Regions from separate parts of the Homo sapiens genome. Here all the other regions are linked to region 4. The links are contacts of gene promoters, found by promoter capture Hi-C in blood cells and fetal thymus (Javierre and others, 2016). All regions are on one chromosome and are shown on one strand. The core of a region is centred on a gene start or on the middle of the fragment in contact, and the rest is flanking DNA. Distances in the headings are between cores, read along the strand shown. Region 1 overlaps SHOC1 (shortage in chiasmata 1). Region 2 holds the start of PTGR1 (prostaglandin reductase 1). Region 3 holds the start of DNAJC25 (DnaJ heat shock protein family (Hsp40) member C25). Region 4 holds the start of PTBP3 (polypyrimidine tract binding protein 3). Region 5 holds the start of ECPAS (Ecm29 proteasome adaptor and scaffold). Region 6 holds the start of GNG10 (G protein subunit gamma 10).

What was found. Contacts are between HindIII fragments. The CHiCAGO score rates a contact against its expected background, and 5 or more counts as called.
Region 1: a fragment that was not itself captured here is called in contact with the fragment with the promoter of PTBP3 in region 4 in 3 of 17 cell types (M0 macrophages, M2 macrophages and endothelial precursors); the score reaches 7.2 in M0 macrophages.
Region 2: the fragment with the promoter of PTGR1 here is called in contact with the fragment with the promoter of PTBP3 in region 4 in 1 of 17 cell types (fetal thymus); the score reaches 5.7 in fetal thymus.
Region 3: a contact is called between the fragment with the promoter of DNAJC25 here and the fragment with the promoter of PTBP3 in region 4, in 14 of 17 cell types (naive CD4 T cells, fetal thymus, total CD8 T cells and 11 more). The highest score is 11.6, in naive CD4 T cells.
Region 5: the fragment with the promoter of ECPAS here is called in contact with the fragment with the promoter of PTBP3 in region 4 in 5 of 17 cell types (fetal thymus, activated CD4 T cells, total CD8 T cells and 2 more); the score reaches 6.5 in fetal thymus.
Region 6: the fragment with the promoter of GNG10 here is called in contact with the fragment with the promoter of PTBP3 in region 4 in 2 of 17 cell types (neutrophils and fetal thymus); the score reaches 5.8 in neutrophils.

What each region holds. Positions count from the first base shown.
Region 1 is chr9:111,754,941-111,758,789 of GRCh38, reverse strand. SHOC1 (shortage in chiasmata 1) reads left to right here. Exons shown (of 28, transcript NM_001378211.1): 6 at 1-95; 7 at 595-706; 8 at 2,312-2,465. Among named protein-coding and RNA genes, the nearest start is that of SHOC1, 38 kb to the left of the region's middle. The HindIII fragment of the contact is 1,826 bases long and covers 629-2,454 here.
Region 2 is chr9:111,597,627-111,601,914 of GRCh38, reverse strand. PTGR1 (prostaglandin reductase 1) reads left to right here and starts at 2,268. Exons shown (of 10, transcript NM_001146108.2): 1 at 2,268-2,312. RefSeq lists an enhancer at 1,845-2,417. The HindIII fragment of the contact is 792 bases long and covers 1,763-2,554 here.
Region 3 is chr9:111,629,079-111,632,996 of GRCh38, reverse strand. DNAJC25 (DnaJ heat shock protein family (Hsp40) member C25) reads right to left here and starts at 1,663. Exons shown (of 4, transcript NM_001015882.3): 1 at 1,254-1,663. The coding sequence starts at 1,589. DNAJC25-GNG10 (DNAJC25-GNG10 readthrough) reads right to left here and starts at 1,663. Exons shown (of 3, transcript NM_004125.4): 1 at 1,254-1,663. The coding sequence starts at 1,589. It overlaps LOC107987116 (a long non-coding RNA gene), which reads left to right and starts at 1,794. Exons shown (of 2, transcript XR_001746897.2): 1 at 1,794-1,957. RefSeq lists enhancers at 930-979, 1,710-1,799 and a silencer at 1,330-1,619. The HindIII fragment of the contact is 9,325 bases long and covers 1-3,362 here.
Region 4 is chr9:112,331,696-112,335,707 of GRCh38, reverse strand. It overlaps PTBP3 (polypyrimidine tract binding protein 3), which reads left to right and starts at 2,089. Exons shown (of 14, transcript NM_001163788.4): 1 at 2,089-2,238. RefSeq lists an enhancer at 1,045-2,015 and silencers at 1,765-2,084, 2,235-2,724. The HindIII fragment of the contact is 11,957 bases long and covers 1-3,508 here.
Region 5 is chr9:111,481,799-111,485,809 of GRCh38, reverse strand. It overlaps ECPAS (Ecm29 proteasome adaptor and scaffold), which reads left to right and starts at 1,427. Exons shown (of 50, transcript NM_001364929.1): 1 at 1,427-1,694. RefSeq lists silencers at 1,328-1,867, 1,988-2,107, 2,378-2,797. The HindIII fragment of the contact is 4,796 bases long and covers 1-3,261 here.
Region 6 is chr9:111,659,431-111,663,521 of GRCh38, reverse strand. GNG10 (G protein subunit gamma 10) reads right to left here and starts at 1,917. Exons shown (of 3, transcript NM_001017998.4): 1 at 1,807-1,917. The coding sequence starts at 1,887. All of the region lies in intron 1 of DNAJC25-GNG10 (DNAJC25-GNG10 readthrough), which reads right to left. RefSeq lists enhancers at 857-906, 1,107-1,206, 2,277-2,336 and silencers at 1,497-1,616, 1,647-2,096. The HindIII fragment of the contact is 12,879 bases long and covers 1-4,091 here.

The DNA.
Region 1 (3,849 bases), core at 292-2,791, 580 kb after region 4:
TTGCCTACTCTCTTGAGTAGACTAAAACTGTTTTTGGTAAAGGATCCTCTTTTAGATTTCAAAGGACAGATCTTCACAGAAGCTAATTTTTCCAGGTACTTACTTAATTGACCAATGCTGTAAATATTTTTAAGAGGTGAAAATGTTTTAGTATGATCACAAGCTTAGATGTTATCAACAATGTTTTTTTTTGTTTTGTTTTGAGATGAGTCTTGCTCTGTCGCCCAGGCTGGAGTACAATGGCGCAATCTCGGCTCACTGCAACCTCCGCCTCCTGGGCACATGCGATTCTCCTGCCTCAGCCTTGCTGAGACTACAGGCGTGCGCCACTGTGCCCAGCTAATTTTTGTATTTTTAGTAGAGACATGGTTTCACCATGTTGGCCAGGCTGGTCTTGAACTCCTGACCTCAGGTGATCCACCCGCCTCGGCCTCCCAAAGTGCTGGGATTACAGGCGTGAGCCACTGCACCCGGCCAATAACTTTTATCATCGTTTTACCTCAACTTTAATTTTAATGATTATGTGTTTTGGTTGGCTACATTTAGTATGTAACTTGCTTTTAGTAAACACTAATTAATGTATTTTTTTTTAAGGGAATGTTTCTCTCTTCAAGAAACTTTGGAAGCTTTTGTGAAAGAAGATTTTTGTATGGATAAAGTGAACTTTTGTCAAGAGAAACTAGAAGATACAATATGTTTAAATGAGGTTGTAATACTGGCTTTCAATAATATTTTAGTAAAAGTAGTGAGGCACATTTTTGTAAAATTTGTGTAATATACATTGTCTACAATTGTCAAATTAAAAAGATTTTATAATGGAATGAACATGTATCAATTAAGAAGTCAAATTTACTTCTAAATAGTGGTTCTCAGCCTTGGCTGTATGTTGGAATTACCTGAATAGTTAAAAAAAAATGTTGAAGCCTGAGATATATTCTGATAAATTGGTCTGGTGTGCAGGCCAGTCATAGGGAACTTTAAAATCTCTTCCAATAATTGTAATCAATATACCTGGTATAGGAAATTAAGTAGTCATGTCTAGTTTAAAAATTGACACCTGAACTAGAAATATTGATTTGTGAGTTATACACAAAAAATAGTACTTGAGCTAATGAGAATATTGCAAGAGTAAGAATATAGAGGGTCCAAGACTGAATTTTAGTTTTCTGCCAGTGTTTAACAAGGATGATAGCATCTTTTGCATATTAAAGGCCAAACTTCTCAAAGATGCATTTAGTTTCAATAGCACACAAAATGGTCATAATATCAGTATGTAAAGAATTCTAGCTATTGCGATTGCAATAACTTTTTGCAGCTGGACAAGCTCAGAAATCTAGGCCCATATTGATTAGATGCGTTCACAAAGCTACTTTAAAAAAACATTTTTTGGCCGGGCGCGGTGGCTCACGCCTGTGATCCCAGCACTTTGGGAGGCCGAGGTGGGCAGATCACGAGGTCAGGAGATCGAGACCATCCTGGCTAACATGGTGAAACTCTGTCTCTACTAAAAATACAAAAAATTAGCCAGGCATAGTGGTGGGCGCCTGTAGTCCCAGCTACTCGGGAGGCTGAGGCAGGAGAATGGCGTGAACCCAGGAGGCGGAGCTTGCAGTGAGATCGCACCACTGCACTCCAGCCTGGGTGACAGAGCGAGACTCCATCTCAAAAACAAAACACAAAAAACATTTTTTTAGGACAACTTAAAATGTTTTATATTTGGAGATTTTAATGGACTTAAAGCACTTAAGGGGTTTCCTTACAATAAAAATTTTAACATGATGGTAAAAAGGTTAATTCACCAATAGGCCCCATTCCTCCAGTACCTCTTGCTTCCCAGGTTAACCCTGAGAGTTGTGGACTTAGTCTCTCTTGTTGAGGAGTCAAGTTCTGTTGGAATGAAAGAGAAACATACTCCATGGATCACAGTAAAGATCTATTCCATTCCATGATCTCATTTCACTTCTCACCATTTATTATCTCTCATCTACTGCAGTGACTGTTTTTAATTTAAAATGTTTACAATTTGCTATTAGCCAAAAAGAAGCTATTTCTGCATCTAGGGATATTGTACACCACTAATGTAATGAGTGACCATAAAATACAATACTCAGAGAGAACATTGCTTATAATAGAACGTATTTTTAGCTGCTACATTTCTGTTTTTTTAAAGTATATATAGCTTTAACAATTTTGAATGTGGATTTAGTTTAAAATTTGGCACATCATTTAAGCAAATTTTGTCCACTTATGATTTCGAAAATATTTATTTGGAAAGCCTCTCTAAAAACTTTTTTAAACTATGTTTTTTCAGCCGTCAAGTTTTCTTATTGAGTATGAATTCTTAATACCTCCAAGCCTCAAACCAGAAATTGATATTCCATCACTCTCAGAACTGAAGGAGTTATTAAACCCAGTGCCAGAAATAATAAACTATGTAGATGAAAAGGAAAAGCTTTTTGAAAGAGGTGAGAATTAATTGTAAAATGTATTACTTGTAAAAACCACTTAAGAATGTTTGTTACATAGGTTCTTGTTTATTAAAATTTTTCTGAACCTCCAGATTTTGCAAAAATGTTCTGCAAGTTACATGTTGAAATCTCAGGATTATTTTTGATGAGATTATTTTCTCATTGTCATTTTCTTGTTGTTGTTGTTGTTGTTGTTGTCGAGACAAAATTTCGCTCTTGTTGCCCAGGCTGGAGTGCAATGGCAAGATCTCAGCTCACCACAACCTCCGCCTCCCAGGTTCAAGCGATTCTCCCACCTCAGCCTCCCGAGTAGCTGGGATTACAGGCATGCACCACCACACCTGGCTAATTTTGTATTTTTAGTAGAGATGGGGTTTCTCCATGTTGATCAGGCTGGTCTTGAACTCCTGACCTCAGGTGATCTGCCCGCCTCGGCCTCCCAAAGTGCTAAGATTGTAGGCATGAGCCACTGCACCCAGCCGTCATTCTCTTTGTATGACTTTCAGGTTTAAAACGTCTCTGAAATTTAACCATTTCAAGATAATTATACAAATAAAACTAAAACACCTATGACTATACAAATTTTTGAAGAGTTGTTTTCTTATAAACAATAAAAACATTATCAACTTCTATACTGACATTAGTTAACTATGGAGAGGCTCACCATAAAGAGCTCAGAGTATGGATTCGTGGAGTCAATGACTAGGAGAGTCATAACTTAGAACTTAGATGGTTTCATCCCATTTAGTCTTAGTAAATTTAGTAAATATTATTGAGTTATTTTTAATGACAGTATAAGCCCAAATATTTAACTGCCCTCTCATAAATTTCATTTAAAATGATCAAAGATATATAATATCATGGAGGAAAGGAAGGGGGATCTGCGATATCCATTGAGAACAGGGATGCTTGCCATGAACAGACCACAGACTTGAAGGAATTCTTACGATTAAAACTAAATCAGGGAATTACTGTTCTGCCTGCAAATCAAAGCAAGGGAATGAAAAGCCAACCTGGGAAAGTAGATCAAATCCATACCAGAACTTGCAAATATAGTAGATCTCAAAATGCAGGGTGGGCCATAGGCTTATTGGCAGGACACAAATCTCAGCTCCGTAAATCAAATGTAAAGGACAACAAATGACTTTACTGAGTGATTATACTGTTAAACTCCCAGCCTTCACTTGACTCGGCTGCTGTACTAAGTAAAACAGAGTCACTGCCACAGAGGACTTCTAACAAGGAAACTTATACACATTATTGAAAGGTCAGGGGGTAGGCAGTGTCCCAGGTACCTTTGGGTTGTCACAACAATAATAATAAAAGTGCTTAGTACAGCAATAAAGTTGCCTGCTACAGGGATATCTCAAGCCATAACATC
Region 2 (4,288 bases), core at 1,019-3,518, 730 kb after region 4:
TTCTAACTCTCTGTGTGCGAGTATGTAACAGCCGTGATTTAACTTAATCACCATGACTTGACAAGCTGCAGCCTTTGAGACTGACTGAGTCATCAAGTTTGGGAAACAGATTTTGTTTGACCTGGTGCGGCCCAATCTTATCTGTATCTTCAATTTAAGGACAAGTGAGTAAATATGTGAGCCACTCTGTGTTTCTGGCACTTTTTTCTCTTATTCTTACTTTGCAAAGACTTTTTATGCCTGCAATTTTATTAACACTTCTAATATCCAAAAGAAACAGTGATTCTGTAACAAGTTATCTTAAAAGAAAAAAAAAAGAGAGAAGCAGAATGCGATATGTAACCCAATACCGTTTCTATAAATTAAATGTATATGACCACAGTGCACATTATGTAAGAACATGGAAAAAAAAACTGTATGCAAATCAAATACATCACAGTAGTTACCTATAGTAGGAGGAGAAAAGCAGGAAATTGAGTTTTTTTGGTTTTCTTTTGAGACGGGATCTCACTTAGACACCCAGTCTAGAGTGCAGTGCCACGATCGCAGCTCGCTGCAGCCTCCACCTCCCAGGTTAAAGCTATGTTGCCCACGCAAGTCTTGAATGCTTGGCCTCAAGTGGTCCTTTTGTCTCAGACTCCAAAAGTGCTAGGATTACAGGCATGAGCCACAGCACCCAGCCTGGGAATGGAGTTTTGTTTTATATTAAGTTACATAAATTAATGAGAAGGGAGAGAGTGAGAAAGAAAGAATTTGGCAGACCAGTGGGGATAAAGTGCCACCAACTCTGATTAGTGTGAAGAATTCAACTCTCGGCATTGTGTTTTTAGGGTCCATCCAAGTTGCTTTATGTACATGGAACCCAGTGCTTCTGATGCTGTGTATATCCTGTGGCATGCGTCCACCACGCTTGGTCCACACACTCTGTTATGGGCTGAACTGTGTCTTCCCCAATTTCATGTGTTAAAATCCCCAAGTCCCAGTACTCAGAATGTAACTGTATTTGTAGATAGGGCCTTTAAAGAGGTAATTAAGGTTACATGAGGCCATATTAGTGAGCCCTAATCCATTTGACAGTATTTGAAGACAAGGCCTTCAAAGACGTGTTTAAGTTAAACGGAGGCTGACAAGTGGGGCTCTAATCCAATATGGCGGGTATCCTTACAAGGAGAGACATTGAGCCAGGTGTGGTGGTGGGCCTGTAATCCCAGCTTCTAGGGAGGCTGAAGGAGGATCACCTGAGTCCAGGAGTTCAAGGCTGCAATGAGCTATGATGCCCACCATTGCACTCCAGCCTGGGTGACAGAGCAAGACCTCAAAATAATTAAAATTAAATAAATAAATTAAAGACATTGAATCTTCACAATGACTGGAAGTTAGGCATTCTTCTTATCCCCATCTTGCAGATGGCTGAACTGAGTGAGGCAAGGAGAAGGTAAGTAAGTCTTTGAAAGCTACACCACTAGTAAGTGGCAGGTGCAGGCTTCGAACCTGCAGTCGTCTAATACCAACGACTTAGCTTCACGTTCAACCCCTGCCTGAGACCACCTCTCCTTGCAGAAGCCAGGTCAAGGCCTGATGTTTGCTAGGGTGTGATGGGTGGGGTGCCTCAGTGGCAAGAGTGCTCACTCCTGCCTGGGGGAGTCTGGCAAGGGTTCACAGAGGTGACCTTGAATTGGCTGGTGGAAGGCGAGTAGGTGTTCAGCAGGCGGACTGGGGACAGACAGGCAGGGTGTCTGCACCGCAGCCCTGGGCGAAAGCTTGCACTGCGGGCAAGCGGCAGGGCTGACGGGGAGCCCAGGGATCGGAGCCAGCACCGGGGGCTTATTAGGGCTGCGGCCGCCCCAGGCCCTGCCTTTGGACCCTTCCGGCCTGCTTGGCAGATGCCACGGTTGGTTCCCCCACGGGGCATATTTCCGCCGGGCTCCAACTTAGGACCCCAGGCGGAGGTCCAGTGTCAGCTGGACAAAGCTCTGTTAGGAATTTTCCTATCAGGAGTCCCTAACCCCCTACACGCACACACACGGGCGCGCGGGCGCGCACGCACACACACGCACACATGCACACATACGCGCGCGCACATGCACATAGGCACACAGAGATACGCGCACACACACACACAAACGCACTCAGATTTCCCGGACCCTGGTTTTCCTCCTGTGACCCTTTCGGGGCCGGGCTCTCACCCTAAAGAAGCAGCCCCGCCCTGGGGTGGCCCCACCCTCTCTTGGGACCTGTCATAAGTCGGACCCCGGGCGCCCGGCTGCGCAGTCCCAGCCGCCTTCCCCAGGCAGTGGAACCTTCGGGCTCCTGTAAGTAGACCTCCTGCTTTCTTTCCTTCCCTTTTCTCCCTCCTCTAACCCCCTTGCTTTCTTCCTGCCAAGTTTCTAGACGCCCCAGTGGAGGAGGTTTGCTCTTAGACCTCCTCCCCTTACGTCGAAATGACCGCTGGGTCTTGCACTCGGAGGATCTTGGGAGCCGACGTCCCGACGCCTCCCGCCCCCGCAGTTCCTTGGAGAGCTTGGAGCCGCGCGCCGGAGGGAATAGGAAAGCTTGGTTACAACCCGGGACACCCGGTAGCTTCCTGCACCCGGGAGGGGGCTGGCCAGGGAACTTGCTGGACTGCACAACTGGGGGAGGGTAGAAGAAGAAAGATCGGGGTGGGGATTCGGGAATGGGCAAGCGGGCGGCGGGCGGCGGGAGGCGAGGGTGGGAGCAAAGGGCGAGCGGGCAAAGGCCGGGCGCCGCGCCAGGCCCCCTCCTCGGGCGGGCGAGACTTTCCCGGGACCTGGCCCCTCTGCGGCCAGACCCTTTCCAGGAGGGCTTCTGGACTTGTAGCGAGTTTGGAAGCCCAGCGGTTGCTTTTTTGGGGAAAGGGACAAAGATGTGTGAACTCTAAAGAAGTTGAACTCATAGAAATAACGACTAGAATGATGGTTGCCAGAGGCTGGGAGCGGGTTCGGGGGGGAATGGGGGCTTGTTGGCCAAAGGGTACGAAGTTCAGAGACGAGAGGAGTAGGTTCTGAGATCTGTTGCACAGCAGAGTGACTAGAGCCAATAATGTGTATTTCGAAATAACAGAGTAAACTGCAAATGTCTCACCGTAAAAATGATACGTAGGGCCTGGCGCGGTGGCTCACGCCTGTAATCCCAGCACTATGGAAGGTCGAGGCGGGCGAATCATTTGAGCTCAGGAGTTCTAGACCAGTCTGGCCAACATGGGGAAACCCCGTCTCTACTAAAAGTACAAAAATTAGCTGGGCGTGGTGGCGGGCGCCTGTAATCCCAGCTACTCAGGAGGCTGAGACAGGAGAACCGCTTGAACCCGGGAGACGGAGGTTGCAGTGAGCTGAGATCGCGCCATTGCACTTCAGCCTGGGCGACAGAGCGAGACTCCGTCACAAAAAAAGTCTTAATTTTAAAAAAAGAAAAGAAGGAACAACCCCGGGCTGCAGATCAGACCGCCCCCCTGGCTCCCTCGCAATGCGGGAGTGCTCCCTCCAGGTCACCGTGTCCCCTCCCGCGGCACCGGTAGGGGAGCTGGGGAGATCACTGGCAGCTCCAAATGGTTTCGTAACTGGATTGTTTGTAGCGGATGCACCCGCGGGAAGGCGCAGGTCCCAAGTGATTCGGCAGAGTTCAGTCCAAGCAGAACATCCTGAACCCCCAGCTCGGGGCAGCCTTCATCATCTTCCCTTGCTTTGGTGCAGCGTTTCAGCTCAAAATCGGTTTGGTGTGGAGTTTAAACTCAAATCCCTACTGGGCCAAAGAAAATTCGCACCCGATGGCTGAGTGCAAGTGGTTCACACCTGTAATCCCAGCACTTTGGGAGACCGAGGCGGGCGGATCGCCTAGGCAACACAGTGAGGCTCCTCTCTACAAGAAAAGAGAGAAAAAAAAGTATTTAAAAAAAAAAAAAACGCACCTGAAAATGGGGCGGAGCAGCGGCGCCCTCCGGTGGTTTTCAGGAGTTCTGAGACTGCCTTGAAATGCGTGGCTGTTTCCATCTGAAAGAGGTGCATGGACTTCTATCTATTGGGTTCTTTGTGTTTGATGCTTTTTCTTAGAATTCACTCCATGTGAGATGAGAAACGGAATGGAATATTCGCACTTCCGGTAACTGTTCAGTGCCGTAGAGAAACTCTAGCCTAGCAGTGGCTGGGAAGAATTTCTTTGTTGTTTTATATTTTTTCCTTGTCTTGAAGATTTCTTTAAACCTCAGTTTCCTCATCCGTACACTGGCAATGATACTAATGTCTATCTTATAGGGAAGTTATAAGGATAAAAT
Region 3 (3,918 bases), core at 414-2,913, 700 kb after region 4:
TAAAAATTACAATCTCACTAACGCTAGTGAGAATTTAATGAACTAGGTAAATTAAATTTTACCTAGTTCAATTCACCTAGTTTACCTAGTTCAGGGCCCGCCCCTCCACCACTCATTTTATGACTCCAAATTATCCAAACTGCTCTGGAAGGCATCAATAAAGTTGTTAGCTCCTTGACTATTTTCAGCTCTGGAAAAACAATCTGGAGGAACAATCCAAGGTAAAATTATATCCACTCAAAGTACAATCATTAAAAGCAGGCTACCTGGCAACATAGAAAATTTTGCCTCGGGAAAAAAAAAAAAAGGCTAGAAAAGAAATACTTTACAACTACAATCGCTGACGCATTAGTATGATGGGGCCCTTCAAGCAGTAATACCACCATCAAGTACGATTTATACTTCGTGATGTCCTAGATGGTTTGATTTTTTGCAGTAGTAGAAGAAAACAGCATCGGGCTAAATCTCTCATCCCCACAAGACTCAATAAAACCTGTCAAATGAAATACAAATACATATTCACAAAATATTTCCTACTAGAAATTCTCAGAGTTTTGTACCCAAGTCATTAAGCACCTATTTATGGATCCTATGGAAAGGGGGGCGGTTCGCACACTTATCATTTAATCCCCATAATAACTCTGAGAGGAGGTATCATGGCCTTAATTTTGCATATGAAGAAACAGCTATTTCAACATAATAAGTCACTATCCAAGGTCATACAGGGGTGTCACAGCAAAGACTCACATCCAGCCTTTTGACTGGTGTTCATTGTTCTTCTCAGTGTTTTCTTAGTTCCTTAAACCCAAACTAAGCGTCACCATTAACACTATTTCCAGAAACCAATTTTCTGTCATATCAAACTGATGCGATCACAGTTGTCACTTGATATTCGAGACTTTCCCTGTTGTGGGCTACCCCAGATCCTACTAATAATGATCACCCTGCTTTTCGAATGTGAAATGCACGTTATTAAAATATTTTCACGAAATCGTAAGATGGCCAAAGTTTTGCATAACAATGTCACAAAAAGGAAGAGGGCAAGGAGGCTAGCTGTGCCCCCCAAGGCCCCGTGGGGCCGACTCGGCTCTTTCACAGGGCCACGTGGGAAACGTGAGTATCTTAAAGGTCGCGGTGGTGGCTGTGCTCAGTTTCGGGGTCACAGAGGCCCACGCTCCGCGGACCGGGGTCGGAAGGCGCCGTGGGCTTCCCGCGGCCAGTCTTCGAAGCCCCTCCACGCCCGCAGGCCTCACCTTGAGTGTCTCGTAGGCGGTTGCCACCAGCAGGAAAGCCTCCTCGGCGCTCTGCGGCGTCCGCCCGGGGCCCTCGTCTCCGGGCTGGGGCCGGTAGCGGTCAGGGTGGTAGCGCCGGGCCAGCTGGCGGTAGGCCCGCGCGATCTCCGCCTTGCCCGCCGAGCGGCTCACGCCCAGCACCTCGTAGCAGTCCCGCGTGCCGCAGTAGAGCCCCTCCACCAGGGCCCCCGCGGGCCGCACCAGCAGCAGCGCCGGCAGCAGGGGCGCCAGCAGCATCCACCAGCGCCGGCCGGCAGCCCCGGCTCCCCAGCCGGGAGAGAGCAGCGGCGCCCCCATCCCCAGCCTCGCTGGCGGCTCTGCCACCCCAGCGATTCTGCAGCACTCAGCCGCGCGCCCGGCTAGTCCCGTCTGGCCCCAGCTACACGTCAGCAGCCGACGCCTCCGCGCAGGCGCACAGGGCGCGGCTACAGCAACTACTTCCTTCGCAACCCGTTGGTAGGGAGAAGGACGCCTCAGCCACTAGGCTGCTTCCGGTGTGTCACTGAACACCTTCCCCGTACCAGCAGCTGGAGGATTTGTTTGGTAGCACCTGGGGGATGGCTCTGTCCCGGGCGCACTTAGGCGGGCTGTGCGGAGCGCTTTACCTTCCACAGTGTCCGGCACACGCATCCTTTTCGACATCATCACTTGACCTGCTGCAATAGGTAACCTACCTGGCTCTCTCGCATCCCGTTATCAGCGTCAAGAAGATTTGCACGTAGGCCTTTAAAGCCAGCCACCAGCCCCGGGCGCCTTCCTCTCACTAACCCCATGCTGCCTTTCCAAACGGAAGATGAACTTAGCAATTCTAGGCGCTGCCTGTGTACTAGGTAGGGACCCTGAAAGTTCATAGCCATCTAGTTCAGTTTTTCTCAGCCTCCACGCTATTGACATTTTAGACCAGATAATTCTTTGCCTTTGAGGGGCTGCCCTTTGCATTGTAAGATGTTTAGCAGCATATCTGGCCTCTCCACACTAAATGCCAGTAGTGCCACCACCCCCAGTCATGACAATAAAAAATCTCTGTACGCGGGTCTGTGCGTCCACCTTGGGCTGCGCGTTCCCGGGACAACCTGCTGGAAGGATCAAGCGATCCTTCCAAAATGCTAGGATTACAGGCGTGAGCCACCGTGCCCGGCCTACATTTGAATTTCAGATAATAATTTTTTAGTATAAGTATGTCCAAAATATTGCATGGGACTATATGGCAACATGAAAAACTTTGCCTCAAAAAATCTGTTTCTATCATTCATCTGGTAAATGTTTATTGAGTCTCTACTCTGAGCCGGGCACTGTTACTTAGGCACTGGGGATACAGTGGTGAGCAAAGTAAACAAGAAGCTCAACTTCAGAGAGCATATATTCTGATGGAGGATGACAGTCAGTAACAAATAAATAAACGTTCAGATATAATCAACTCTTTTAATAAAGTGAAATCAAATACTGATACATAGCATTATATACTTATAATACATAATGAATATACATTATAATTTTGTATTTCTCATTGAATAAATATATATCTCTCATTACATATATCTCCCTCATTACATATATAATATATATAATCTCATTACACATATATGTCTCTGTCATTACATATATAACATATATGTGTCTATTTTTCACCTCAGCCCACTAAATATTGCATGGGACTATATAGCAACATATACAGTTATATATGTAATGAGAGAGATACATGTATATGTAATGAGATACAAAAGTTATATATATAATAACAATTTTGTGTATCATATATGCTTATTTACATTTGTATCTCATATATGTTTATATATGCTTATATATGGCTTATATATATGCTTATATATATATATAATGAGAAAGATAAAATGAATGGAAACACATGGGAGGGTCTCCTGAAATTATTAGGATCGGGATCAATTACAAGCATCAATTCCAGTAGGAGCTGACAGCTAAACTGACTTTGGAGGACGAATAGAGAATGGCTTGAAGGATGTGAATTAGAGAGGAGTTTGGGGACAAGGGAGTGTGAAATAAGTACCAAGAAGAGAAACGAGCCATGGGCAAGAAAAAAATAATAATAAAGCTTTTCAAAAAATGAAAGACAACCTATATGACTAGGAGTAGAGGTAAGGAGTGTAGGAGATGAAACTGGAGAAAGCCAAGTTGCAAAGGGTCATTTTATCCCATGTCAAAGAAGTTGTTCCTTATCTTAAGAGCAATGGAAAGGCCAATATGGGGTCTTTGAGCAAAAAGTGACACCTTCGGATTGACATTTCAGAACCATTACTCTGCCTGGGAAAATGAGTTGGGATGTATCAGGAAGACCATTAGGAGACAGTTATGAGTCCAAGTAGCCTGTAATCCCAGCACTTTGGGAGGCCGAAGTGGGTGGATCATCTGAGGTCAGGAGTTCAAGACCAGCCTAGCCAACATGGTGAAACCCCATCTCTACTAAAAACACAAAAATTAGCCAGGCATGGTGGCAGGCACCTGTAATCCCAGCTACTCAGGAGGCTGAGCCTGGGAGAATTGCTTGAACCCAGGAGGCAGAGGTTGCAGTGAGCCGAGATCACACCATTGCACTCCAGCCTGGGCGACAGAGCAAGACTCTGTCTCAAAGGAAAAAAAAAAAAAAAAGTCC
Region 4 (4,012 bases), core at 840-3,339:
TAAGTGATCTGCCCGCCTCGGCCTCCCAAAGTGCTGGGATTACAGGTGTGAGCCACCATGCCCAGCTATAATCCAGGATTTTTAGGTGAAAAAAAAAAAAAAAAAAAAGAAAAATGGTAAAGGTCGCTGGGTGCGGTGGCTCACACCTGTAATCCCAGCACTTTGGGAGGCTGAGGTGGGTGGATCACAAGGTCAGGAGTTCGAGACCAGCCTGACCAACATGGTGAAACCCTGTCTCTACTAAAAACACAAAAACTAGCCAGGCGTGGTGGCGGGCGCCTGTAATCGCAGCTACTCAGGAGGCTGAGGCAGGAGAATCACTTGAACTCGGGAGGCAGAGGTTGCAGTGAGCTCAGATTGTGCCACTGCACTCCAGCCTGGGAGACAGAGCAAGACTCCGTCTCAAAACAAAAAAACAAAAAAACAAAAAAACAAACAACAAAAAAAAGTAAGGTCCAGAAGGATGCACGCAGAATTGTTACAGTGGTAGTCATGGGCAGGGGGTGGTTTGGGAAGAAAAATATTAATGATAACTTTTCAATATTTTATAGTGCTTGAATTTTCCAAAATGAGCATTTATGCTGATATTACTTGTGTAGCTAAAAAAAGGGTTAAGGAAATTTCATCAACAGAATATATCCCAAATACAGTGATAGAAAGACTGCATCAGCTACTTATCTTGTTGATATTCTACATTTCCATCTGGCAATGTTTACAAATGCAACTTAATATTTAGATTTAATATACAAAACAAAATGTATTTGACATTTTGGAAGGGGACTGAGGTTAGATACAGGACTTTAAGAATTACCTCACCGAATTACTCTACCTATTTGAAAAGTTGTATGTCAAAAATATACATAAACGGACTGAAGAATCCATTCAACAGTGACGGCTGGAACCTGATTTTCTTGTGTATTCATGCAGTGCCCGGCACATAGTAGGTTAATACTGACTGAATGATGAATGAGTCCACAGTTTAGATCTTTTTAGCAGCACCTACTGATCTGAAAGCAGGAAATTAGCAAGGATAGATGTTTGAGGTTCTTGTTAGTTGCTTTTCAAATGACGAAGCCACGGGGAGGAGCCCCGCTCTTTTTTACTCAGTAGGTTAAGAATTTGGCTTAACAGTTTAGGGGGTTACATTTTGGTGATCTGTGAGTTGAAAAAGTACTCAATTTCTCACTAAAAAGGGAAAAAAGCAAGCGTGTTGTCACTCGTTATATTATATATATACTTTTTGCTCAGACCAGAGGGAAGGGCTCTGGTGCAAACGTTTCCTGGTTGTGAAACTGTGAGCAAATCACTCTCTTTGTATATGTATTTTCATCTGAAAAAAGGGAATAATGAGTAAACTTTTAAAAAATGCTGGGAATATAGCCATTCCATGTTTGTACAATGAATTTTTCATATAAATTCAATACTAGACGGTTAGGTCGAAATGCACTCAGATACTTAAATTGTATACAAATTCCAGTCCGGGCAGCCTCTTTCACCTCATTCATCGTCCCAGCCACACCTATGGGGCTGGTGTCGGTCCCAGCGGTCGACTCCAGCGCCGGGCTGCCAGAGGCTGGTCCCTGGACGTGTCATCTACAGCCTCGCGCACCCGGGGCAATTCCACCTCGTTTCTGGGGTCCTTGTGGGACATTCCTTCCTACTCTTGGGAGTCAGGTCCCCATAGCTTTTCCTGCCGGCAGAGGGAGGCATTCAAACCTGGCAGGCCCGGTCTGCGAAGCCGGAAGGCCCGCGGGGCCGCGGGAGGGCGGGCGGGGTGCGCGGCGGAGCGGGAAGCACAAGGCGCGCGCTCCCGCGAACGCAGGAGGGAGGCTGGGGGCGCGCGCGCGCGCCGGGCCGAGGGGCCGAGAGGCGGGGTCTTACAGCGACCGCGGGAAGAGGGCGCCCCAGAGCTGAGCCGGAGGCCGGCTGCCAGCGGGGCGAGGGTGGGCGCGAGCGCAGGGGCGGGCCCCGAGGGAGGGCGGGGACGGTGAGGGGGCGGGGTCGGGCTAGGCGGGGACGCGCTCGCGGGGTGGGGAAGGCGGGGGCGCGGCGGTGGCGGGAGCGTGCCCGGTCCCCGCCCCTGTTCCCACTCTCCTTCCACCTCGGACCGGCCGGGGCTCCGCAGAGCCAAAGCTCGCTTGTCCCCGGAACCGCCCTGCTGCCGCCGCCTGCTTCCTCTGCTCGCGGTTAGCCCGTCAGTCCCTGCTCTGTGCGCGCCTCCATCTGGGCCATGGATGGGTAAGTACTAGGCGGCGCGGCGGCCGCACCGGGTTGCCTTGGCGCCGCTTCCACCCGGCTCTCCGCGGGACGCGTAAGGGCTGGGGAGCAGTGCGCGGCGCCGGCGGCCGGAGGAGCGGCCCCGGCCAAGCCCGACGGCGGGGCTTCCGGGCGTCTCGGTGGGGATCCCGGAATCGCGGAGTTGCCGTCCGCCGCAGGCTCTCCTTTCCCCACGCGGCGCCCCGGACACGTCCGCTGCTTCCTAGCCTTACTCGACACACCCGGGAGCAGAGGAAAGCCCGGTCCGGCCGCGGTGCCGAGGTCCGCCCTCCGCGCCCCGAGTCCGGGGAGCCCAGCTCGGCCTCCCGACACTTCCTCTCAGAAAATGGTGCGCGGCGCTGGGGGAGGCGGAGGCGGCGCGCGGGGCGGGCGTCCTCCTGCCGGGGGAGTTGCTGTTTACCGGCGAGGTGGGGCGAGCGGCCGACGGCGGGTGCACGCGTCGGTACACGTCTGGGCGGCGACCTGGTCGCAAGCCATGGTCCCACGCGGGGTCCCAGGGCCGCCGCGGGACTTGGCCGAGGTCTCCCGACTTGTGCTGTGAGATACGTTAACGCTTTCTCGACACCAGGGGTCTGGACTTAGTGACCATGGACGCTTCCCCCTCACCTTTCTCTCTCCCCAAGAAACTTAATGAATTATCTGCCCGTGTATGTAAAATATGATGTACGAGCGATTTTCGGGGGCATTTCAAATGCTCAAAAATTTAATGGGGGTCCGTGACCAAAATAAAAAGATTTAGAGTCTATGTATATAAACTGTTCTCTGGGGACTCAGGGATATGGGGTGGGACTTGACATATTTTGGTAATTAAAGTAACAACTATGTTAGGATTTTGGTGAATTAATTGAAGGTTGTAGTATCTGTACCTACGGATTAAAAAAAAATCTCCAACTCGGTTTATTCCCATTATGTATTTGAGGTTTTTTTTAGCTTGTTACCTACTTTTGATGACAAGATTTCTGTGAGGTTGTGGAATATATGCAACTTGCTAGAACAGTAAAAGTCGTTCACATGTTGCCATACAGTTGATGATATGCTATTTGAAGATGAAATCTTCCAACAGCTTTTGACCTCATTAGATTTCATTTATTTTAGTTTCACAATATTAAGTGTATATGACATTTCGGATTGATTCATTTGAATGCAGATTGCACACTGCTACAGACATCAAAGTGGAGTTTTAGATTTTATTCATGATTGTGATGTTCTTTATTTTTATTTGATTGAAGCTTCAAAAAATTTCTTAAAATTATAACTTTTTTGGGTACACAGTAGGTGTATATATTTTGGGGGGGAATTGAAGCTGTTTTTATTGTTTGATTGAAGTTTCTTCGAGAACATTGTTGAAAACTTATTTCACATTACCTTATTCAGTTGCATTTTATATGTTGAAAAATTTTGTGGTCGTAAAGATTTGTGTCACTAATATTTTGGTTCAGGCAGGCTGTGAATTTAGCATTTCATTATGTGTAGTTAATTGTCTGGAAGGTTTGACTTAAATAATGGAAGCAGGCTATTTTTTTGTGTCGTAAAATGTATAGTTATAATAAAGAGGACTCTTGAATTTTGCGTCTTTGCTGTTAAACTGTAGGATAACTGTGAAGTGCAAACTTACTTTTTGATAGTGTTTAAGAAGTTTACTCTCCCTTCACGCTATTTGTGGTTTTAAAGGTAGTAATGGGTTTATTGGTTTGAATATGCAAGGCAGTTATACAGATACTGACTGGAAGGTAAG
Region 5 (4,011 bases), core at 178-2,677, 850 kb after region 4:
GGCATGAGTGGGATGAGGGGGGATGGTGGGTATGCAGTTGGGAGAAGACCTGTATACACCTCTCTATTGTTTGTAAGTAGTTCATTGTGTATTTATTTTGGAGGCAACATCAAATAAAAGAGGAGCATACATGAAAAAAGGGGTTGGTTAACTTAGTGTAGTATGAAGTTACAAACAAAAAAGGGTGATGGTAGTGCAGTGTTTTGAATTAACATGGAACAATGTGTGTGAAGGAATAATTGATCCAGAACTTTATTGTAGAAACCTGTCCCCATCAAAGCCATACATGGGGCTGTATATATATGTCCAGAGAAAAGGTCTTCTGCACACTTAACTGTAACTGTTAGTCATAATTTCTCTGCAGAGTGGGATGGTGGGGCTAGGAGGAAGGACTTTCACTTTTAATTTTATGATACTCCAAATCATTTGCATTTTTTTTTTACAAAAATTATGTATAATTTTTCTTTTTTTTTTCTTTTTGAGACGGAGTCTCGCTCTGTCCCCCAGGCTGGAGTGCAGTGGTGCGATCTCGGCTCACTGCAAGCTCCGCCTCCCGGGTTCAAGCGATTCTCCTACCTCAGCCTCCCGAGTAGTTGGGATTACAGGCGCGCGCCTCCACGCCCAGCTAATTTTTGTATTTTTTAATTAGAGACAGGGTTTCACCATGTTGGCCAGGCTGGTCTCGAACTCCTGACCTCGTGATCCACCCGCCTAAGCCTCCGAAAGAGCTGGGATTACAGGCGTGAGCCACCGCGCCCGGCCCAAGATCATGTATAATTTCTATAACAAAAACAATAAAGGAAATAAAAATGTCTTCAGTGTTGTACCTTGTACTTGGCCTATGTTACAACAGGAATGACATATATTCCATTTTTAAGACATTACTTAGGGCTTTATAGATTTCTGCTTTAAGGAATAAATGCAATTTCAATCTATTTAAGACTTGATTTCTTCTTATATAAAAAAAGTATCTGATCTTGTATCTAATTTGTTATGACAGTACCATCACTTAAAGTACAGCAATTATGCAACCCCTGAATTTGAATTTCATTTTGCAAGTGTACATGACCTCACGGACAAAGCGAAGGCAGAAAGTTAAAATCAGCATATCGAAAATAAATCACTCTAGTTACCGAAAAGAACATAGGGTATCTGAACAAAATCTCAGAGCTCACATAGGCATAGATACTTCCATGTGAACTTTAGGAATCTTGCCTTATCTAACTTTTGCAGGGCTGAGTGGACCCCCTGCTCCCGCTAGCCGTTTTGGGAGCACCAGCCACCTCCACACCAGAACTGGGCTGTCGGGGGCCGCTGCGGCGCAGGGGCTCGTCCGGGACTGAGTCAGCGCCGGGGCCGAGAAGTTCGGCGGGAGGCGCAGGGCGGGGCTTCCTCCCGCCGACTCCGAGCCCGGCTCTACTTTTCTGAGTCCACGTCTCTTCCTTTGGACAGGCGTGTTTCCCCAGGTCGGGCCCAGCCAACGTGACAGCCGCAGACCTCGGAAAAGGGCGCTCCGGCCCCGCCTCGAGGATTTCCCCCGGCCGCTAGGGCAGCCCGGGCCCGCTCGGCCCAGCCCCTCACGGACTGCGGCGCGCGGCTCCCCGGGGCCCGGCCCGCCGAACGCCTCGCTCTACAGCCCTCACCTCGCGGCGCCGAGCGCAGCGTCCGCGGCATGGAGACCGGCTCCGACTCAGGTCAGAGGCCCGCCCCCGGGCCGCGGGGGACTGGCCCTGCGCGCGCGGCGGCGCGGTTAGGCCGGGCCGCCCGCACAGGCCGCCGCGTGTCGAGTCCGCGCGGGGAGCGCACGCGGGGCGGGCGGCGACAGGTGGGCAGGACGAGCCGCGAGCGAGCGAGGGCGGGCGGGCGCGCGAGGGGCCCGGCGGGGGGGCCGCTGGGAGGATGGCTCAGCTCTTTCTAAATATAAAACCGGCGTGAGTTGGGCGAGCGCGGCGCGGAGTCGCAGAGCCGCCGCGCGGGCCTGGCGCACGGGGATTCGGCCGCACAGACGGCGGCGGCGGCAGCGGCAGCGGCTCCGCAGAGGCGCGAGGCTGCGGGAGCGCCCGAGTCGCGAGCTCGCGGGGGCAGCGAAGGGCGACGCTCGCGACGCGGAGGACGCAGGCGGCGGCGGCGGGCGGGCCTCGGGGCACAGCGCGGTCCGCGCCGAGTGAACGGAGGCGGCTCGCGGCCCCTGCCGCACCGCGAGCCGCGAGCCCCCCGGCCGCGCCCTGCCCCCCCAGCCCCTCCCTCGTTCCCTCCCCGGCGCAACATGGCTGCGGCCGCCGCCTCCGCCTCCCAGGATGAGCTGAGTAAGTGCCGCGGCCGAACCTGCGGCCGCGAGCCGGAACGGGCGCCGCGCGGTGCCGGGGGCCGGCGGCCGCATGAGGGCTGGGGCGCCAGGCCCGGTGGGCGGGCGGCGGCCGCGGCGTACGGGGAGCTGGGGAGCCCGGGCCTGGCGGACGGGCGGGGCGCGGACCGTCGCCGCTGGCGTTTGTAGGCCTCAGGTTTGCACCGTCACGTTGCGAAATTGAAACCGGAGCCCCGGGCGGAGCCACCTCTGCCCGCGATCCGCCCTGGCCCGGGGTCGGGGGAGCCCAGCCCCCTGCCCACTGAGCCTCGGCTGGCGGGAGGGCCGGAGCCCCGGGGTGACGGGCAGTGTCCGCCCGTCCCGTCTGACCCCGCCTGGCCCCGGGTCCCCGACGGCTGGTTGAGTTATAGAAATGGAGCTTTCGGGAAGGGGGAGAAGGTGCCTTTTTGTGACACTCTAGTAATCAGCCGAAAGGTCACGAATAGGCGGTGACCCTCAGATGGAGCAGGGAGGGCGGAGAGGGTCGCCGGTCGAACCGCAGGAGAAACCACGGGGTGACAGCGCTTTCAGAAAGGAGAGTTAGTGCCCCCTCGATCGTACGCGGTGCAGCCTTCCCGGGGACGGCGGTCCCTGTCTGGGGAGAGCGGTGGTCACCCTGAATCCCAGGCCGCCCCGCCCGCCGCCGGGGTTCGCCTCAATGCTTTGTGGGAAGTGTAGTTCCGGGGCGCCGCGGACCCACGCTGGGGTCATAAATACCGAAGTTTCATAGGACATAGGACATGTGAGATAATTTCTGATTGCGTTTTGAGTGTTCTCCCCCCCAAGGGTTTTCTTTCTTTCCCTTTTTTTTTTTCTCCCAATGCTGCCCTTCAGTTTATGGCAAAAACAAGAAAGGTGTTATTTGAAGATGATGTGGGTTTTAAATGGAATAAAGCATGGGTGAGGTGTTGCAAGCTTTATGAAGCTTACGTTGTTAAAGCCGCTTCTGAATTTCCATATGAAAGTAGTTATACACGTAATGTATGTTTTTCTGGTGCTTGTCAGTTTAAAGCCACTTTTATATACATGATCTCACTTTTGCCCTCATAGCAACCTTGTGAGGCAGATAGGTAGGAATTATCCTTGTTTTAAAGAGGAGGCAGGTTTGGAGAGATTAAGTTCCTTGCTGCTTTGACACAGAACTGGTGGAGCAGGAGTACTGTTTGCTTTTTTTGAAGCTGAAGTAAACACTTGGTGTGATCCTGAGCAGATTGGAGAGTCGGAGGAGACAAGGTCTCATGGTGCGATTAGAGAGAGAAGCGGGCTACAGATTGCTCTTCTGTCGGTTCCACGTGGAAGCACCACCAGGCCTTCTGAGATCAGTTCCATGTTTTGTTTTAATTGGAAGAAAAGTACACATACCATAAAATTTCCCGTCCTAGCCATTTTTTAAGTGTACAGTTCAGTGGGATTGAGTACATTCACACTGTTGTGTAATCATCACCACCATCCATTTCCAGAACTCTTCGTCTTGTAAAACGGAAACTTGATACCCATTAAACAACAAATCCTCATTCCCTCCTCCCTTCGGCCCCTGGCGACCATCATTGTACTTTCTGTCCCTGTGATTTTGAGTATTCTTCCTACCTCGTGTGAATGGAATCATACAGAATTTGTGACTGGTTTTATCTTTATTTAGCATAATGTCCTCAAGGTTCATCCATGTT
Region 6 (4,091 bases), core at 668-3,167, 670 kb after region 4:
CACCGAGATCACCAGGCATCACCTCCTCCCCTTCTGTCTCACCTATCACCAGGAGGCTGGCTGCATTCCTTCTCTATCCATCTAGGCTCAGCCTCTTTCTGGCCAGACCTTCACACGCCTTGCCCTCCGGCCCCACCTCCACCTTTCTGGCATACCTCCCCTGCTAACTTACTCCTCTTTCAACTACCGTTCACCTTCAGCACTCACATTCCAGGATGGTAAAGATTGCTGCAGGAAAAAAAAAAAATCACAAATATGACCAGCAGTCTCCCTTGTCACAGCAGCTGGGTCTTCAGTCACAGCGCATCTGCGTGCCTGCTCAGGGGCCACTCCCTTAGTCCCCTTTCCTCTGCCTTAGAAGAAAACCTGGCCTCCTATTTCACAAAGAAAAGTGTCACCATACAAGTTTAGCCCATATCTAGAAACTTATCTTTACACACACCCTTACCTTCTTTCTTCCTGTCTCAGAAGCTGTGCCACCAATCCCCCACCCCCCCGTAGCCCTGTCTCCTCTACCAGCAATTGGCTTCCATTTGTTTCTTCCCTGGAACCTAAAAATATAATTTGTTACTTCCTCTCAACCCTAAAACATGGCTTTTCATTTCCTAAGTTAAAAAAACACGTTATTTCCTCTTTAAAACTAGGTTTCTTTAAAAAGAAAAAACGTCTGCCTACCCTATGACAGTCCAGATTCTGCTTTTACTAACACATAAGCCACCAGACCTCTGCATTCCACAGCCCTCTCTCCCTTTACCCTGTTTATTATCTTCACTCCACTTAGTACATGAAGCGATGCTATGTATCCGTTAAGTTGCTGTTTACCTTCCCCTCCAGAACCACCCTATTCCCTGTAGCAGTGCCAGGCACACAGCAAAGGAGAAACTGAGGCACAGGGACTATCCTGGTTGTGTTCCTTCTTACAGATCTTCTGCAAATAATGCTGCACTCGTAGCTAAACACAGCTCTACAACAGACGCCTTTTAGCCAACTGACTAAACGCTGGACATGTTGACTGAGCCCCCAGTTTTTGGAAATCCCTACTTCCTTGCTCGGAAACCTTGCTGTCTCTTATTTCCTCTTCTCTAGGCCTTGCTCGGAAACCTTGCTGTCTCTTATTTCCTCTTCTCTCGGCCACCGGCCATCGGTGTGGCTGGTCCCCGGGTCCCAGGCTCTGAGCTCTGCTCTTCATAGAAGAGGCTTTTTCGCCCCAATGCACTTGAATGACCTCTTTCAGCCCTGGGCGCTGAGCTTCAGGCCATGAGGACAAATACCTCCCGGATGACTCCCCGGAGTCCCCAGGTCCGCAGCCGAACTCATCATTTCCCCAAACCTGTTCCCCCTCCTCTCTACCTCGGCGGGTGGCAGCGCCGTCCACCCTGTCACGACGACAGAAACCCGAGCATCCTGGCTCTCCTCCCTCTCGCTCTCATCCTACCAATCCATCACCAATTCGCCGCCCTGCGGTGGCCTCCCCAGCCCTGGGTCCACCCTCCCGGCCCGCGCGTCGCCGGCATCCCTTGCGCCCTCCGAGGAACTGACCACGGCCGCCTTCTGGAGTGGGCGCACCCCCAGGGACCGGGACCGACCACGACCGCGGGGCCCCCCAGGCGCGGCTTCCTCCCGTCAGGCCCGGGCCCCCGGCTTGCCCCGCGCCCTCCCTCACCGCGGACCCCACCGCCCCCGCGCCCCGCCGAGGCCTCGCCGCCGCCACCGAGTCCCCCGCTGGCGCCCGGTCCGGGCCGCCGGCCTCCTCTTCTCACGCCCCGCGGGCGGAAGGACCGGAGCGTGGGTACCCGGGGCCCGCACCTTGATCCTCTCCACGCCAGCCTCCAACTTGAGCTGCTCTACCAAGCGCTGCAGGGCGCTCGCGCTAGCCCCGGAGGACATGGCGGCGGCGCTGGGCTCCTAGGGGCTGCTGGGCCCGGCCGGGCGGGGAGGAGCCGCCAGCCCCGAGCGCGGGTGCCGCCCCGGGGCGGGGAAGCAGCTGCGCCCGCCCCGCCGCCCCAGCCCACCCGGCGCGGAGCCGCTTGCCAGAGACAGCGGGGACCCCAGCGAGCTGGCAGTGCTCTCCGCTCCTCAGCGCCTGAAACCTGGGTGGCACCTGCAGCTGGGCCTGGAACCGAGGCGGGGACCCGCAGAGCGCGGCGTCCTCCAGCGAAGCTGGCGCCCCTAGGATGAGCAGGAATCGCGAGGGCGTGGGACGCGAGGATGGAGTGGGCGGCAGCAAACACGCACCCCTGAGAAATGAGAACTGGAGCCAAGGTGTGACATGAGTTGGAGAGATAAGGGGCCTTGCCAGACAGTATCACCGGGGAACCAAGGAGAGTTCATAGGATTTTCATGAGGCAGCAACAGGTTTCTAAATGACCCTGTTACTGTTTCACGGAGATCCTACCAGTTGATTTGGTGGAGTATGGTAAATTGGATAAAATCCCAGACCCTGACATCTTTGTGAAACATACAGAATAAAATTAAATTCAGCGTTTCTCACTCTCATCTCACCATTTAACTGTCATCATTGTTTCTATTCTGCTGCTTTTTTTTTTTTTTTTTTTTTTTTTGAGACAGGGTCTTGCTCTGTCACCCGGGGTGGAGTGCAGTGGCGTGATCACAGCTCCTTGTAGCCTCCACCTCGTGGGCTCAGGTGATCCTCCTGCCTCAGCCTCCTGAGTAGCTGGGACTACAGACACACACCACCACGCCCGGCTAATTTTTGTATTTTTAGTAGAGACGGGGTTTCACGATGTTGGCCAGGCTGGTGTTGAACTCCTGGGCTCAGGTGATCCTCCCACCTCAGCCTCCCAAAGTGCTGGCATTATAGGCCTACTGCATTTTTTAATAAGTGTTTTACAAAACTGGGATCGTTACTATATTTAAAATTTTTGTGTTGCTTTTTTCCATGTATCATTAATACGTCATTATTCTTGTACACCATTGTATTTGTCAGAACTCACTTAAACTGAATATTGCAAAAGGTAATATATTGGCTTGTGTAACTGAAAAGTCCAGGGACTTTAAACTAGTGAATTCAATTACCCAAATAATAATTTTGGGGCTCTCATCCTCCTTGTTTTGATTCTGCTTTTCCTGAGATTAGCCTCATTTTCCTTGGTGGTAGATGGACTTCTCTAGTGGTATGAAGGAAGGCACCACACTTTCACTGTCCCCATCTAGCAAACCCAGGAAAAATAGTACCTCTTTTCTTTCTAATCGTTCCAGCAAAAATCCCCATAATGAACCTCACTGGCTGGTATTAAGTCATGGGCCCACCCCTGGCCCAATTACTCTTTGAAGGCAAGGATGTGTGGCATTGACGTGCTCAGATTAGCTGTGCCTGGGCCAAAGGGAGACTTGCACATTTGAAAGCCCTCTCTAGTGGCCAATTTCCTCACCACAAAGAAATTAATATATATCTTAGTAAAGAGATGAAAGTACATGTTGGGAACATTCAACAATCAATTCTGAGACTGATGAATAGGACAAAATAGAATGATTTCATATTTAAAAGATATGGCAAAGAACTCAGTGCAAAGATATACATACTGGATTAGGAAAGGCTCATCATAGATCGTGAGAGCTGGACTTTGGAGATACGTGTCTTGCAGATGGCTCAGAAGGAAGAACAGTCCAGTATGGAGGACAGCTGGAGGCGATGCACACATGTAGAGTGAATAAATTTAAAAATAGAGGAAGCTCTAGTGACTAATAGCAGATACAAAGTTGCTAGGGCCAGAAGTCATAGAAAACCTCACATACACACAAAAGTTTATGGTAAACAGTGGGATAGCCACAGGGTAAGGCATTTTGGGAATATTAATCTGAGATGAATGTGCAAAATGAACTGAAGTTGAGAAGATAAATGGCTGATGGTGGGGGAGTAGCTGGAATGAGGCCCTGGGTAGGACTGTTAGAGTAGGAATGAGGGGGAACAAATTTAGAAGACAAAATCAGTGGTACTTCATGGTGGTTATGAAATGCAAAGAAAAGAGGACAAAGGGTTCTGTAGCAGAGAGTGGGCCAGAACTAATGCCAAAACAGAAATTAGGAAACAAGACTTGGCTTGAGATGAGTAAAAAATAATGTGGGGTTTG